4 separate regions of the Homo sapiens genome follow, and all the other regions are linked to region 4. Evidence: promoter capture Hi-C in human tissues and cell types (Jung and others, 2019). All regions are on one chromosome and are shown on one strand. The core of a region is centred on a gene start or on the middle of the fragment in contact, and the rest is flanking DNA. Distances in the headings are between cores, read along the strand shown. Region 1 overlaps ZNF763 (zinc finger protein 763). Region 2 overlaps ZNF69 (zinc finger protein 69). Region 3 overlaps ZNF563 (zinc finger protein 563). Region 4 holds the start of ZNF625-ZNF20 (ZNF625-ZNF20 readthrough (NMD candidate)).

Region 1 (4,003 bases), core at 591-3,090, 170 kb before region 4:
GTGGTGAGGGGATGTCAGCTCTAGACTCCTGGAGCTGTTTTTGCCTTATTCTCTAAAGACTAAAATATTTCATAAAATGTATGGGTGCTGTTTACCAGAAAGTACGTTGGGTAAAACATAGAAATTCATTTATACCTTAGAAAGCTATTTTTTTCAGGTTGGTTTAGTGAGTCACAGGAAGCTAATAAATTACAATAATAATGTAAATTGTCTAAATACAGCCTTTTCTTTCTCTGATAATGTGCTGTTGATACTAACTTGTCAACAGCCTGTTTATTTCAGCCATGTAAAGTTAATGGCAACATGGAAAAGTCACTTTTATATGTTATGCAATGGCATGGAAAAATTCATTTTCATTAAGGTTCCAATGAAGCTGCTCTTCAGAAACGCTTATTTAAAACTCCCTAAGGTCAAAGTCCAGGCATCACGGGATGCAGCATCAATCACTGACCAAACCCTGTCTGTGTGTGGAGATGACATACCCAGTCCCAGATAATGTATCCACATCAGTGAAGGGTGGAATCATTGATTGTCAGATCACACAGCATGATTCACAGCAGGGAAGACAGGGCAGTGACAGAGGTGGGGGCACCTGAGCAGGTACGGTGGCTCACACCTGTAATCTTAGCACTTTGGGAGGCCAAGGAGAGTGGATCACTTGAGGTCAGGAGTTCAAGACCAGCCTGGCCAACATGGTGAAACCTTAAGAAATAGATAAATTAGCTGGGCATCGTGGTGTAATCCCTGTAATCCCAGATACTCAGGAGGCTGAGGCAGGAGAATCGCTTGAGCCTGGGAGGTGGTTGTTACACTGAACTGAGATCACACCATTGCACTCTCCAACCTAGTCGACAGAGCAAGACTCTGTCTCAAAATGAAAAAAACAAGAGTTGGGTGCACCTGAATCCAACCCCTGCCTTATCCTCCCTTGAAGGCCAAATACACCCTGACACTTTTAACCAAACAGTAGAAACAACACCATCCACTTGACCCCAAATGTGACTTTCCACAGGATGCAAGCACAATGTTGGAATGGCCAATGACAGTGACAATGAAAGTGCAGGGTGAGGGTGATGAACAGGACACACTGGAGAGCCTGACATTGGCCTAGACTATGGAGGTGTCTTGATGTTTCACAAAAAGCCCAAGGACCAACCCAAAGAGACACTGGAGCACAGGCCCAAAGGGTGTTCATATGCCAGGAAGGCTACTAATTTTAGAAGGCAGTGATGGTGCCTGTTTGAGTCCGGATGCTTTATAACTTCTGCTTTTCTGCATCTGCTTAGACAAAGAAATCTGCAGTTTTTGAGTTTCAGTGTTTAGAAGTAAGTTATTTTAGCAATCTACACACTTGTGGTTTATTCTGAGCTAACTTCAGACACACAGCTACAGATAGGGAATATCACGAGTATTTCCAAGGCTAAAAGTCTTCATGAAGTCAGTGGGACCCTCTCATGGGAGGGTTTTAAGACCCACAATCAAAAAGGTGGGGAAACATTAGAGTGGAAAGAGGGCAGCAGGTCAGGGGCCTTCCCCAGAGGTCTAACACACCCAACATTATTACCCTGGATGAAAACCAATACATATCATAACACCACACACACTCTTCAATGTTTCACAGACAAAATGAAATGTATTCAAAGCTAAGCTTCCAGAATTCCACTTTACACAATAAGGTTTTAATATCACTCTGTGTTGATGTTAGGCAATTACTAAATAGCATTTTCTGGTTATCTATGGAAAATACCTTGATTTCTGGGATATGAAAATGCTCATTTTTAGATATGCTTGTTTTTGAACTTTTTTTAATAAAATAAGGTGAGAAAACAGGAAAAAAATTTTCAGATCAAGGAACTTAGGCGAATTAATAGGAGAAAAGTCATACAAATTTATTTAACATGTATATATGGGAGCCTTCAGAATGAGGACCCACCCAACAATAAGACAAAAAAGCTTACATACCATTCTGAGGCCAGGAAAAATGCAGACTTGGCATGGCCAAAAAAATTCCAGGTTTGGTGGGGAAGTCATTTTTAATGGCAAGACAGATTATGCTAAAGGAAAGGAAGAAGCTTGGCTAGCAAAGGAGACCTTGTTATGTAGATGAAGGCTCCCTCAGAGAGAATAGGTGGGAAATGCTGCTTTTCAGACTTTTATTTAGAATTTTAAGTAATAGAGTCAGGATTATGCTGTGTTGCCCAGGCTGTTCTCTAATTCTTTGTCTCAAGCAGTCCTCACAGCTCAGTCTCCCAAAGTGCTAGGATTCCAGGCATGAGTCACCATGTCCAGACAGGGTTTGTCCCCTTGTAAAGAATTATTCATTGCTGGGCACAGTGATTCACAGTGACGTCTGCCTGGCATCTGCCTGTAAAGGAAGCATGGCACCAGCATCTGCTCAGCTTCTGGTGAAGGCCTCAGGAAGCTTTCAATCATAGCGGAAGGTGAACGGGGAGCAGGCAGTCACATGGCGAAAGCAGGAGTGAGACAGAGAGAGTGGTGTAGGAAGGTGCAGCTCACTAGAACTCACTGATTATCACAAAGACAGCAACAAGCCATGAGAGAAACAAGCCATAGGTCCCCCTGACCCAAACAACTCCCATCAGGACTCACCTCCAACACTGGGGATTGCAGTTCCTCATGACATTGGGTGGGAACATACATTCAAACTATCACGTGACAATATTACTTCCCTCAGTTTATTAAAGAACAAGTGTTTCTAGCTCTTCAGTGCTGTTCAGTGATTTGGAATATGGACAGGGAAAACTTTGATAAATCAGGAATGGCTGCAGTGAGCCATGAACATAGAATCTAATAATTTTTAAACTAATTTTATAATAGCTGGGCATGGTGGCTCATGCCTGTGGTTCTAGCACTTTGAGAGGCCAAGGTGGGTGGATGACTTGAACCCAGGAGTCTGAGAACAGCCTGGGCAACATGGTGAAACCCTATCTCTACAAACTTTTTAGCCAGGATGGTGACATGCACCTGTAATCCCAGCTACTTGAGAGGCTGCAGTAGGAGAATCACCTGAACCCAAGAGGTTGAGGCTGCAGTGAGCTGTGATCATGCCATTGCACTCCAGCCTGGGTGATAGAGTGAGACCCTCATCTCCAAAAAAAACCCCATAATTTTATAATCAGGACTATTTTTTATGGATCTGTATTTTAAGAAAAAAATGGAAAGACCAGATCATTGAAGATCAGTACAAAAATCTCAGGAATAATCTAAGGTAAGTTTCCCTCACAAGATAAAGCATTCTCTCTCTAGAAAATCTTATACTGCCTGAAAATGTTTTGGTTTTTTTGGAGACAAGAGTTTCACTCTTGTTGCCCAGACTGGAGTGCAATGGCTCAATCGCGGCTCATCGCAACCTCCGCCTCCCAGGTTCAAGTGATTCTCCTGCCTCAGCCTCCCAAGTAGCTGGGATTACAGGCGCCCACCACCACGTCTGGCTAATTTTGAATTTTTAGTAGAGATGGGGTTACTCCATGTTGGTCGGGCTGGTCTCGAACTCCTGTCCTCAGGTGATCCGCCTGGCTTGGCCTCCCAAAGTGCTGCAATTACAGGCGTGAGCCATTGTGCCCGGCTGAAAATGTTTAAAATATGCAAATAAAAGAAATAAGACCAGCATCACATTTATTTACTCTTAGAAAATTTTCTCTAAAAACATAATATTTAAATGTGACATAGGCTAGGCACAGTGGCTCACACCTCTACTCCCAGCCCTTTGGGAGACCAAAGCCAGATGATTGCTTGAGGCTAGGAGTGAGACCAGCCAAGGCAACATGGTGATACATCACCTCATTAACAAAAAATGTTAGCTGCGCATGGTGGCACTTGCCTGTAGTTCCTGCTATTTGGGAGGCTGAGGCAGGAGGATGGCTTGAGCCCAGGAATTCCAAGCTACCATGAACCATGCTCAATTAGACCCCTGCCTTATCACAAGGACAGAGGGCTTTCTGTATCCTAAGGTTCTTGCCTTGGTATACTGGAAGAATTGTAT
Region 2 (3,754 bases), core at 572-3,071, 250 kb before region 4:
TGACGAAGCTTCCAGAGGAAGGATCAGGCAACAACATTTGCCGTTCTGCAATATTTGCTGTTCTGCAGCCCCTGCTGGTGATACCCAGGCAAACAGGGTCTGGAGTGGACCTCAAGCAAAATCCAACAGACCTCAGCTGAGGGTCCTGACTGTTAGAAGGAAAACTAACAAACAGAAAGGACAACCACACCAAAACCCATCTGTACATCACCATCATCAAAGACCAAAAGTAGATAAAACCACAAAGATGGGGAGAAACCAGAGCAGAAAAGCTGAAAATTCTAAACATCAGAGCGCCTCTTCTCCTCCAAAGGAACGCAGCTCCTCGCCAGCAATGGAACAAAGCTGGACTTTGACTTTGACGAGCTGAGAGAAGAAGGCTTCAGATGATCGGTAATAACAAACTTCTCCAAGCTAAAGGAGGATGTTCGAACCCATCACAAAGAAGCTAAAAACCTTGAAAAAAGATTAGACAAAATGGCTAACTAGAATAAACAGTGTAGAGAAGACCTTAAATGACCCGATGGAGCTGAAAACCATGGCACGAGAACTATGTGATGCATGCACAAGCTTCAGTAGCTGATTCAATCAAGTGGAAGAAAAGGTATCAGTAATTGAAGATCAAATGGATGAAATGAAGTGAGAAGAGAAGTTTAGAGAAAAAAGAGTAAAAAGAAATGAAAAAGCCTCCAAGAAATATGGGACTATGTGAAAAGACCAAATCTATGTCTGATTGGTGTACCTGAAAGTGACAGGGATGGAACCAAGTTGGGAAACACTCTTCAGGATATTATTCAGGAGAACTTCCCCAACCTAGCAAGGCAGACCAACATTCAAATTCAGGAAATACAGAGAACGCCACAAAGATACTCCTCGAGAGGAGCAACTCCAAGACACATAATTGTCAGATTCACCAAAGTTGAAATGAAGGAAAAAATGTTAAGGGCAGCCAGAGAGAAAGGTCGGGTTACCCACAAAGGGAAGCCCGTCAGACTAACAGCGGATCTCTTGGCAGAAACTCTACAAGCCAGAAAAGAGTGGGGGCCAATATTCAACATTCTTAAAGGAAAGAATTTTCAACCCAGAATTTCATATCCAGCCATACTAAGCTTCATAAGTGAAGGAGAAATAAAATCCTTTACAGATTCAAATGCTGAGAGATTTTGTCACCACCAGGCCTGCTGTAAAAGATCTCCTGAAGGAAGCACTAAACATGGAAAGGAACAACCGGTACCAGCCACTGCAAAAACATGCCAAATTGTAAAGACCATTGAGGCTAGGAAGAAACTGTATCAACTAACGAGCAAAATAACCAGTTAACATCATAATGACTGGATCAAATTCACACATAACAATATTAACCTTCAATGTAAATGGGCTAAATGCTCCAATTAAAAGACACAGACTGGCAAATTGGATAAAGAATCAAGACCCATCAGTGTGCTGTATTCAGGAGACCCATCTCACGTGCAGAGACATACATAGGCTCAAAATAAAGGGATGGAGGAAGATCTACCAAGCAAATGGAAAACAAACAAAAAAAGCAGGGGTTGCAATCCTAGTCTCTGATAAAACAGACTTTAAACCAACAAAGATCAAAAGAGACAAGGCCATTACATAAAGGTAAAGGGATCAATTCAACAAGAAGAGCTAACTATCCTAAATATTTATGCACCCAATACAGGAGCACTGAGATGCATAAAGCAAGTCCTTAGAGACCTACAAAGAGACTTAGACTCCCACACAATAATAATGGGAGACTTTAACATCCCACTGTCAACATTAGACAGATCAATGAGACAGAAAGTTAACAAGGATATACAGGAATTGAACTCAGCTCTGCACCAAGAGGACCTAATAGACATCTACAGAACTCTCCACCCCAAATCAACAGAATATACATTCTTCTCAGCACCACATCACACTTATTCCAAAATTGACCACATAGTTGGAAGTAAAGCACTCCTCAGCAAATGTAGAAGAATAGAAATTATAACAAACTGTCTCTCGGACCACAGAGCAATCAAACTAGAACTCAGGATTAAGAAACTCACTCTAAACCACTCAAATACATGGAAACTGAACAACCTGCTCCTGAATGACTACTGGGTACATAACAAATGAAGGCAGAAATAAAGATGTTCTTTGAAACCAATGAGAACAAAGACACAACATACCAGAATCTCTGGGACACATTTAAAGCAGTTTGTAGAGGGAAATTTATAGCACTAAATGCCCACAGGAGAAAGCAGGAAAGATGTAAAATTGACACCCTAACATCACAATTAAAAGAACTAGAGAGGCAAGAGCAAACACATTCAAAAGCTAGCAGAAGGCAAGAAATAACTAAGATCAGAGCAGAACTGAAGGAGACAGAGACAGAAAAAACCCTTCAAAAAATCAGTGAATCCAGGAGCTGTTTTTTTGAAAAGATCAACAAAATTGATAGACCGCCAGCAAGACTAATAAAGAAGAAAAGAGAGAAGAATCAAATAGATGCAATAAAAAATGATAAAGGGGATATCACCACCGATCCCACAGAAATACAAACTACCATCAGAGAGTACTATAAATACCTCTATGGAAATAAACTAGAAAATCTAGAAGAAATGGATAAATTCCTGGACACATACACCCTCCCAAGACTAAACCAGGAAGAAGTCGAATCCCTGAATAGACCAATAACAGGCTCTGAAATTGAGGCAATAATTAATAGACTACCAACCAAAAAAAGTCAAGGACCAGATGGATTCACAGCTGAATTCTACCAGAGGTACAAAGAGGAGCTAGTACCATTCCTTCTTAAACTATTCCAATCAATAGAAAAAGAGGGAATCCTCCCTAACTCATTTTATGAGGCCAGCAACATCCTGATACCAAAGCCTGGCAGAGACACAACAAAAAGAATTTTAGACCAATATACCTGATGAACATCGATGCAAAAATCCTCAATAAAATACTGGCAAACCAAATCCAGCAGCACATCAAAAAGCTTATCCACCACGATCAAGTTGGCTTCATCCCTGGGATGCAAGGCTGATTCAACATATGCAAAGCAATAAACGTAATCCATCATATAAACAGAACCAAAGACAAAAACCACAAGATTATCTGAATAGATGCAGAAAAGGCCTTCGACAAAATTCCACAGCCCTTTATGCTAAAAACTCTCAATAAACTGGGTATTGATGGGATGTATCTCAAAATAATAAGAGCTATTTATGACAAACCTACAGTCAATATCATATACTGAATGGGCAAAAACTGGAAGCATTCCCTTTGAAAACTGGCACAAGACAGGGATGCCCTCTCTCACCACTCCTATTCAACATAGTGTTGGAAGTTCTGGCCAGGGCAATCAGGAAGGACAAAGAACTAAAGGGTATTCAAGTAGGAAAAGAGGAAGTCAAATTGTCCCTGTTTGCAGATGACATGATTGTATATTTAGAAAACCCTATCATCTCAGCCCAAAATCTCCTTAAGCTGATAAGCAACTTCAGCAAAGTCTCAGGATACAAAATCAATGTGCAAAAATCACAAGCATTCCTATACACCAACAACAGACAAACAGAGAGCCAAATCATGAGTGAACTCCCATTCACAATTGCTTCAAAGAGAATAAAATACCTAGGAATCCAACTTACAAGGGATGTGAAGGACCTCTTCAAAGAGAACTACAAACCACTGCTCAACGAAATCAAAGAGGACACAAACAAATGGAAGAACATTCCATGCTCGTGGATAGGAAGAATCA
Region 3 (3,849 bases), core at 646-3,145, 160 kb after region 4:
AATCACTTGAACCTGGGAGGCAGAGATTGTGGTGAGCCAAGATAGCGCCATTGCACTCCAGCCTGGGCAACAAGAGCAAAACTCCATCTCAAAAAAAAAAAAAAAGATCTACAGGAAGGAGTTTCAGGCCAGCAAGGTCTGGCTTAGCTAGCTACACAATGCATTAGAGCTTCAAGAACTTGAAGAACATGGGAGAATTGGCCTTGGCTGATGCAAAGGAAACATCAGCATTCCTAGAAAAGCTCATGAAACTCATTAAAAAAAAAAAAAAAAAAGAGGCTAACTTCCAGAGCAAATCCTCCATTGTAATGAATCAGGCATGTTCTGGAAGAGGATGCCCAATTGTACCTTCATCACAAGAGTACAAAGAAAGCCTTGGGGTTCATGACTTGGAAAGATTGCCTTACTCTGGTGCTACGTGGCAATGCAGCAGGTCATAAGATCAAACAAAGCCTCCTCTACTAAGTAAACAATCCGTGGGTCCTTGAAAACAAAAGCGAAACTTGCCTGCCCGTGTCCTGACAAAAACACACGAGGACTTGGTTCTACCACTGCTTCATTCCTGATGTGAATGAATACCTTGAAAAGAAGGGGCTGCCACTCAAGGCCCTCCTCATAACTGACAACGCTCCTGGCATCTCTCTTCTCTCTGTTATGCCGATAAAAATGGGGAAGTGATGTTCCTGCCTCCTAAAACTACATCACTGCTACAACTACTTGATCAAAGCATCATCAAGTGCCTCAAGGTGTCTTACACCCACTGGACTTTTGGAAGGATTTATGCTGTCTTGATAATAACCCTCACCATGTCATACAGGATTTATGGAAGAGCTTCCCAACTGCAGAAACGATTGTGTTTATTGCGGAGGCTGTAAATGCCCTACAGCTCAAGACAGCCAAAGTGTGTTGGAAGCCATTATGGAGTGAGGAAGTCAATGATTTCAGGCGCTTCTGCACTATCGATATGATAGTCAGAAATATCTTAAATGTAAGGAAAGTTGGTGGGGAAGGCTATCTCTGACACAAGTGAAGACAATGTTGAGGAACACACAGAAGAGCAAAGAAGAAACCTTTACTAACAAGGAACTAGAAGATATGCTGAAATCCTCTATAGATGATGATGATGATGATGTAGATTTAGAAGAGGCAGTGCCGCCAGGCGTGGTGGCTCACGCCTGTAATCCCAACAGTTTGGGAGGCCGAAGCGGGTGAATCACCTGAGGTCACGAGTTTAAGACCAGCCTGGCCAACATGGTGAAACCCCGTCTCTACTAAAAATACAAAAATTAGCTGGGTGTGGTGGCGGGCACCTGTAATCCCAGCTACTTGGGAGGCTGAGGCATGAGAATCGCTTGAACCCAGGAGGCAGTGTTTGCAGTGAGCCGAGATCGTGCCACTGCACTCCAGCCTGGGTGACAGAGTGAGACTCAGTCTCAATAAATAAATAAAGAGGCAGTGCCATAAGTGGTGGCTCATGCCTGTAATCCCAGCATTCTGAGAGGCCAAGGCAGGCAGATCACTTGAAGTCACAGGGAGTTCAAAACCAGCTTGGCAAACATGGCGAAACCCTGTCTCTACTAAAAATACAAAAATTAGCTGGGCATGGTGGTGCATGCCTGTATTCCCAGCTACTTGGGTGGCTGAGGCAGGAGGATCACTTGAACTTGGGAGGTGGAGGTTGCAGTGAGCTGAGATTGTAATCCCAGCTCCTCAGGTGGCTGATGCAGGAGGATCACTTGAACCTGGGAGGTGGAGGCTGCAGTGAGCTGAGATTGCACCACTGCACTTCAGCCTCAGCGACAGAGTGAGACTCTGTCTGAAAAAAAAAAAAAGAAGCAGTGCTATAGATTTTGATACTTGAAAAATCTGAAGGCTGGGTGTGGTGGCTCACCCTGTAATCCTAGTAATTTGGGAGGCCAAGGCAGGCAGATCTCTTGATTCCAGGAGTTCAAGACCAGCCTGGGAAACATGGTGAAACCTTGTCTCCACAAAAAACACAAAAAGTAGCCAGGCATCGTGATGTGTGCCTATAATCCCAGCTACTTGGGAGGCTGAGGTGGGAAGATCACTTGAGCCCAGGAAGTTGAGGCTGCAGTGAGCCATGCACTGTAGGGTGACAGAGTGAGATCTTGTCTTAAAAAAAAAAAAAAAGAAAAGAAAAAGAAAAAAAAAGAAAAATTGGAAGCAGTTTTAGGGCACCTACAGCTTCTACAAGGCGCAAGTGTTAAAGATTATCATCCTCAATTAAGATTCTTCCATGGAACAAAGCCTCCATGTCACCCCAGAGATTACATGCTCACAAACGTTGCAAAGTTTAAAAAAAAAAAAACTAGCTTCCTACAATGTTTCTAATTAAATATCTGCAAATATGAAGACAGCCTTCAATGCTTAAAGATCTTCAGTCCTCAAATTGAACAGATTCTGACATTAGTATTATTTAGACTGCTCCAAAAATTCAGTATCTGCAGTCAGAATCTGTTTCTTCCAATATAGTTGATCATGTTGACATCCTGTCAAGATTCGAGTTAGCCTGAGGTCTCACTGCTTATCTGTGGTGTCACACATCTAGCTGACTCAACACATCACAACATTAGGCACGATATTGCAATAATCATCATTACACTTTTGTTGGGTGAATGTTAACACATTTTCAGGTCATTAAACAAAAGCAATCTATGAGTGTTGAAAGAAAAGATTTATAATGCTCTAGGTGACATGTATTATGTGGGTGGGTCTGTACTGAATATGTGTAGGGTCTTTCTCATATCATGATTCACTAAACAATATAATAACAACTATTTACATAGCTTCTATGATGCATGATGTATTTTAACTAATCTACAGATGATTTAGAGTATACAGGAGGATGTGGGTAGGTTACATGCAAATATTTTTTATTGTTATTATTTTTTTGAGACAGGGTCTCATTCTGTTGCCCATGCTAGAATGCAGTGATGTGATTTTGACTCACCGCAACCTCAACCTCCCAGGCTCAAGCGATCCTCCCACCTCAGCTTCCCTAGTAGCTGGGACTACAGGTACATGTCACCACACCTGGCTAATTTGTGTATCTTCTGTAGAGACAGGGTTTTGCCACATTACCCAGGCTGGCCTCTAACTCCTGGGCTCAAGTGATCCACCTGTCTTGGGCTCCTAAGGTGCTAGGATTACAGAGGTGAGCAACTGTGTCTAACCCAAATATGTCTTTTCTTTCTTTCCTTTTTTTTTTTTTTTGTGTGTGTGACAGAGGTTGTTTTGCTCTTGCTGCCCAGGCTGGAGTGCAGTGGCGCGATCTTGGCTCACCGCAACCTCCGCCTCCCGGATTCAAGTGATTATCCTGCCTCAGCCTCCTGAGTAGCTGGGATTACAGGCATGTGCCATCACATCCGGGTAATTTTGTACCAAATATGTCATTTTTAAAAAAGGACTTGGCATGTGTCGATTTATGTATGCCCAGGGGGTGGTAGAACCACGCTCCTGCAAATATTAGGGGATAACTGTATTTGAAAGAAACTGAGGCTTAAAATTAAGGCTTTACTATGTGTTTACATTCATAGGGTTTATCTCCAATGAGAATTATTTCTATCTGAAATGAAATAACATTAAAGAATACTTCCCTACATTTCACACATTTATAGAGTATCTCTCCAGTGAGTCCTTTTATGTCTATGCAAGGACCTGAGAGAACTCAATGCTTTTCTACATTTCTTACATTCATATGACTTCTCTCCAGAGTGAATCCTTTCATGTACTTTTTTTTTTTTTTTGAGACAGGGTCTGGCTCTGTCGCCCAGGCTGGGGTGCAGTGCATCTTGGCTCACTGCAACCCCCACCCCTTGGGCTCAAGAG
Region 4 (4,151 bases), core at 1,422-3,921:
GCCTCCCAAAGTGCTGGGATTATAGGCGTGAGCCACCCCGCCCAGCCCTTACCTATATTCTTTTGTAAAATATTGAAAATGCCTGAACAGAGCCAGGAAGGGCCTCTTTTCTCTTGATCTTCATTATAGATTAACTTTCCTCTTACCTTTCTCACACAAAGACTTCATGGCCATCACAGTGTCTTAAGCTGGAATGTCAAATTTGATAATGGCTCACTGCAGCATCAAACTCCTGGGGTCCAGTGATCCTCCTGCCTCAGTGTCCCTTGTATCAGGAACTACAGGTGGGTGCAACCACACCTGTCTAATTTTTCTATTTTTCTTTTCTAGACATGGGTCTTGTATTACCAAGGCTGGTCTCCAACTCCTGGTCTCAAGCAATCATCCTGCCTCAGCCTCACAAAGCTGGGATTACAGGTGTGGGACACTGCACTAGGTCAAGAGTTTAACTTTTAGCTCCGGAGTTCTAAGCCCATTTCCCTAGAGTCTGTATTTTCTTGAATGGCAATTCTCAGATTTTCACTTAAATAATCTCCTTATAATAGGAATCTGATCATTTCAATCATTTAAGGTAGAAAAATCCAAACAAGGCGACTACATCACTGTAACCAATAAAGTATTTTTTGATTTTTATTCTAATGCACCATATAAAAGCCTATCCTTCAACCTGTAAACTAAAAATAAAAACCTAAGCTCCCCATCCCACCCCAATCAAGTCAACTGAGTGGCTCTTTACCAAGGGGAGGCCCCCCAAAAACCTGAAAGTTCCCAGTTACATTAGTAAGGGAGATCAGACACTCCATACTCCCTTCTGGAGTTTAGACACAGCAACTGACCCACATTCATATTAAAATAGACATAAGACCTGCAAAGAGGCCGGGCACAGTGGCTCAGTCCTGTAATCCTAGCACTTTGGGAGGCGGAGGGAGGCGGAGGCAGGCGGATTATTTGAGGTCAGGAGTTTGAGACCAGCTTGGCCAACATGGTGAAACCCCATCTCTACTAAAAATACAGAAATTAGCCGGGTATGGTGGCGTGCACCTGTAATTCCAGCTACTTGGGAGGCTGAGGCAGGAGAATTGCTTGAACCTAGGAGGCGGAGGTTGCCGTAAGCCGAGATTGCGCCACTGCACTCCAGCCTGGGCGAGAGTGAGGCTCCATCTCAAAAAAAAAAAAAAACCTGCAAAGAAACCCTTTGTACCAATAAATACTAAATTGCAAACAAGACCTAAGGCCATGCAAGGCAAGGGTAAAGTCACGCCTTAGAATTCATAAAATCTAGTGAAACATATCTGTTTTTTGGTGGGGATGGAATCACGTGGCAGGTAACAGACTCCCTTCACTTAAACATTCCTTCCTACCCCTTTCAAATTTTAGACACAACTTCACACTCTCAGCCAACTGCCAACTACAGAATCCCTCAACCACCTGTGCCTTCTAAGCCCCGCTTCTACGTGTCCTGCCCTGTCAGCCTTCCATGCCTTGATTGATCTTTTCCCTGCAATTCCTGTCTCGCTGAAATGAATAAAACCAAACTGCCATCGAACCTCCTGGGGACCACTTACTCGAGGCTACATGCGGTTGTTTCCCTTGGTCACGTTCTCTCATATTCGGCGTAGAACATAGTTCAAGTTATTTTGCAGAGTTTTGCTCTTTCCGTTATCAAACTGCAAGCCATGACTGGGTGTTTCTCATTCAGGAAACATTTCTCATTCATTTTTTTCAAACTCCTATTCTGAGAAGCAAAACTCTTTAATTTTTAAGAGGACTCAGTTTAGTTTGTTGCTGTTGTTTTTGTTTTGTTTTGTTTGAGACAGGGTCTCGCTCAGTCGCCCAGGCTGGAGTGCAGTGGCGCGATCTCGGCTCACTGCAGTCCCAATCTCCTCCCTCAAGCGATCCTCCCACCTCAGCCCCCCAGTAGCTGGGATTACAGGTGGGCGGCACCACGCCCGGCTCATTTTTTAAAAATTTATTTTTAATAGAAACTAGGGTCTCGGTATGTTGCCTAGGCTGGTCTCGAATTTCTGGGCTGAAGCAATCCCCCCGCCTCAACCTGCCAGGCGTGACCCACTGCGCCTGGCCTTCAATTTAGTTTTTCAGGAAAAAAGGGGGGACTGGGGACCCCGCAGCCCACCGCTCCTCCCACACGAACCACACACCCGAGGCAGGATTGCCTCCATGACCCTCCCGTGGTCTCCGCACAATCTGGGGAGACGCGGGACTACGGGCGCGGAGCTCCCCAGAGAGGGCTCCGGGGCCGGGGCCAGGGCCGGGGTCGCAGTCGCAGCGCAGAGACGGGACAGGACGCCTGGGGTCCCGGCTGCCGGCCCAACCCCACCCTGCGGCCGAAGGGACCGAGGGCCGAGCTACGCCAGGGGGACTCCGCTCTGCAGACCCGAAGTCGCTGCAGGAAGGCCTGGGTCCTGCTAGAGCCGGTTCGAGCCGGTTCCTCCCGGCCCCTCCCCCGTCTCGGGACCCCCGGCCCCGCACACTCACCATTTCCCGGCTTCCAGGTGTCCTGGCCTCCTCTCCACGGATCCCTCTAACAGTCCAGTCACAGTGCGGGCGATGGAGCGACAGAAGCTATGGCGGAGGCACCTGGTCCCTCTCGGGGCCGGAAAACCGAGATCCCGACCTCCCTTTGGTGCAAGACGCCTGGGAGTCAGGAAAGCGGGAATGCGGCCTCCCCTTCCCCGGATGGACAGTTGGCAGGACCCCGCCCCAGCGCCCCTGATTGGATGAGGCTCCAGTCCCCGTCCCATCGGTCCTGAGTGACAGCGGAAGCCCTGGGTAACAAGGCCCGGCAGAACCGAAATGACCTGTTCCAACCACAGATTATCTAAGCGAGCTCCCTCCCTGCGTCTTGCTCTTTGGGTATTTGCATTTCAGCCAAATTTGCTCCGAATTGCTAGAGGGGGTACCGTTGTCTTCCTCACTCAATGGGCTGTCCCTGCTCCTTTGTCTTGCACAGGAAATTCCAGACTCAGAGTCCAGTGGAGGTGAAGGAAATTAAAATATTTTACGCCAAAATATATTTATTTGACAGATTTTGAAATGGCTGTGGCTCGGCCGCAAAAAAAAGTGGACTGGCAAAGCTGTCTTTGGAGGGGGGGAATTTGCATCTGCAGAGAATCTCCATTGATGAAACCATGCCCTCTCCCCCTTTATTTCTTTCCCTTTATCCAAGCTAGAAGAGATTGTGACCTGAACACAGGCAGGGTGCGGTGGTTCACGCCTGTAATCCTAGCACTTTGGGAGGCCAAGACTGGAGGATCCCTTAAAGTAAAGAGTTAAAGACCAACTTGGTCAACACAAGAATACCCCTGTTTTGTTGTTTTTTTTTTTTAATTTTTATTTATTAAACTTTAAGTTCTAGGGTACATGCGCACAATGTGCAGGTTTGTTACATATGTATACATGCGCCATGTTGGTGTGCTGTACCCATTAACTCGTCATTTACATTAGGTATATCTCCTAATGTTATCCCTCCCACATCCCCCCACCCTAGACCCCTGTTTTTATTATTTAAAAATCTTTACGGCCGGGAGCGGTGGCTCACGCCTATAATCCCAGCACTTTGGGAGGCCGACGCGGGCGGATCACGAGGTCAGGAAATCAAGACCATCCTGGCTAACACGGAGAAGCCCCGTCTCTACTAAAAATACAAAAAATTAGTCGGGTGCGGTGGCGGGCGCCTATAGTCCCAGCTACTCGGGAGGCTGAGGCAGGAGAATGGCGTGAACCCGGGAGGCGGAGCTTGCAGTGAGCCGAGATTGCGCCACTGCACTCCAGCCTGGGCGACAGGGCTAGACTGTCTCAAAAAAAAAAAAGAAAGAAAAAGAAAAAGAAAATCTGTGAAGGTCAGAATTAGAGCAAGACCCATTTGGGATGCCTCCTGGAGAAAGGGTTTATGAATTTTTATTTATTATTTTATTTTATTGTATTTATTATCATTTTTTTTGAGACGGAGTCTCGCTCTGTCGTCCGGGCTGGAGTGCAGTGGCGCAATCTCGGCTCACTGCAAGCTCCGCCTCCCGCCCGGGTTCATGCCATTCTCCTGCCTCAACCTCCCAAGTAGCTGGGACTACAGGCGCCTGCCACCACGCCCGGCTAATTTTTTGTATTTTTAGTAGAGACGGGGTTTCACCGTG

The links. The method cuts DNA at HindIII sites, captures the fragments that hold promoters and counts their contacts. A contact is called where the count stands out against the background at its distance.
Region 1: a contact is called between a fragment that was not itself captured here and the fragment with the promoter of ZNF625-ZNF20 in region 4, in 1 of the 25 tissues and cell types used here (H1 embryonic stem cells).
Region 2: a contact is called between a fragment that was not itself captured here and the fragment with the promoter of ZNF625-ZNF20 in region 4, in 1 of the 25 tissues and cell types used here (stomach).
Region 3: a contact is called between a fragment that was not itself captured here and the fragment with the promoter of ZNF625-ZNF20 in region 4, in 3 of the 25 tissues and cell types used here (hippocampus, lymphoblastoid cells and mesenchymal stem cells).

What each region holds. Positions count from the first base shown.
Region 1 is chr19:11,980,411-11,984,413 of GRCh38, forward strand. ZNF763 (zinc finger protein 763) reads left to right here. Exons shown (of 4, transcript NM_001367172.2): 4 at 1-207. Among named protein-coding and RNA genes, the nearest start is that of ZNF433-AS1, 5.2 kb to the right of the region's middle. The HindIII fragment of the contact is 4,224 bases long and covers 1-3,952 here.
Region 2 is chr19:11,906,468-11,910,221 of GRCh38, forward strand. ZNF69 (zinc finger protein 69) reads left to right here. Exons shown (of 4, transcript NM_001364730.1): 4 at 1-229. Among named protein-coding and RNA genes, the nearest start is that of ZNF700, 17 kb to the right of the region's middle. The HindIII fragment of the contact is 5,350 bases long and covers 1-3,754 here.
Region 3 is chr19:12,314,258-12,318,106 of GRCh38, forward strand. ZNF563 (zinc finger protein 563) reads right to left here. Exons shown (of 4, transcript NM_145276.3): 4 at 3,220-3,849. Among named protein-coding and RNA genes, the nearest start is that of ZNF563, 17 kb to the right of the region's middle. The HindIII fragment of the contact is 6,161 bases long and covers 1-3,849 here.
Region 4 is chr19:12,154,060-12,158,210 of GRCh38, forward strand. ZNF625-ZNF20 (ZNF625-ZNF20 readthrough (NMD candidate)) reads right to left here and starts at 2,672. Exons shown (of 8, transcript NR_037802.1): 1 at 2,497-2,672. It overlaps ZNF625 (zinc finger protein 625), which reads right to left and starts at 2,675. Exons shown (of 4, transcript NM_145233.4): 1 at 2,497-2,675. The coding sequence starts at 2,499. RefSeq lists a silencer at 2,192-2,361 and enhancers at 2,338-3,029, 2,592-2,701. The HindIII fragment of the contact is 11,402 bases long and covers 1-4,151 here.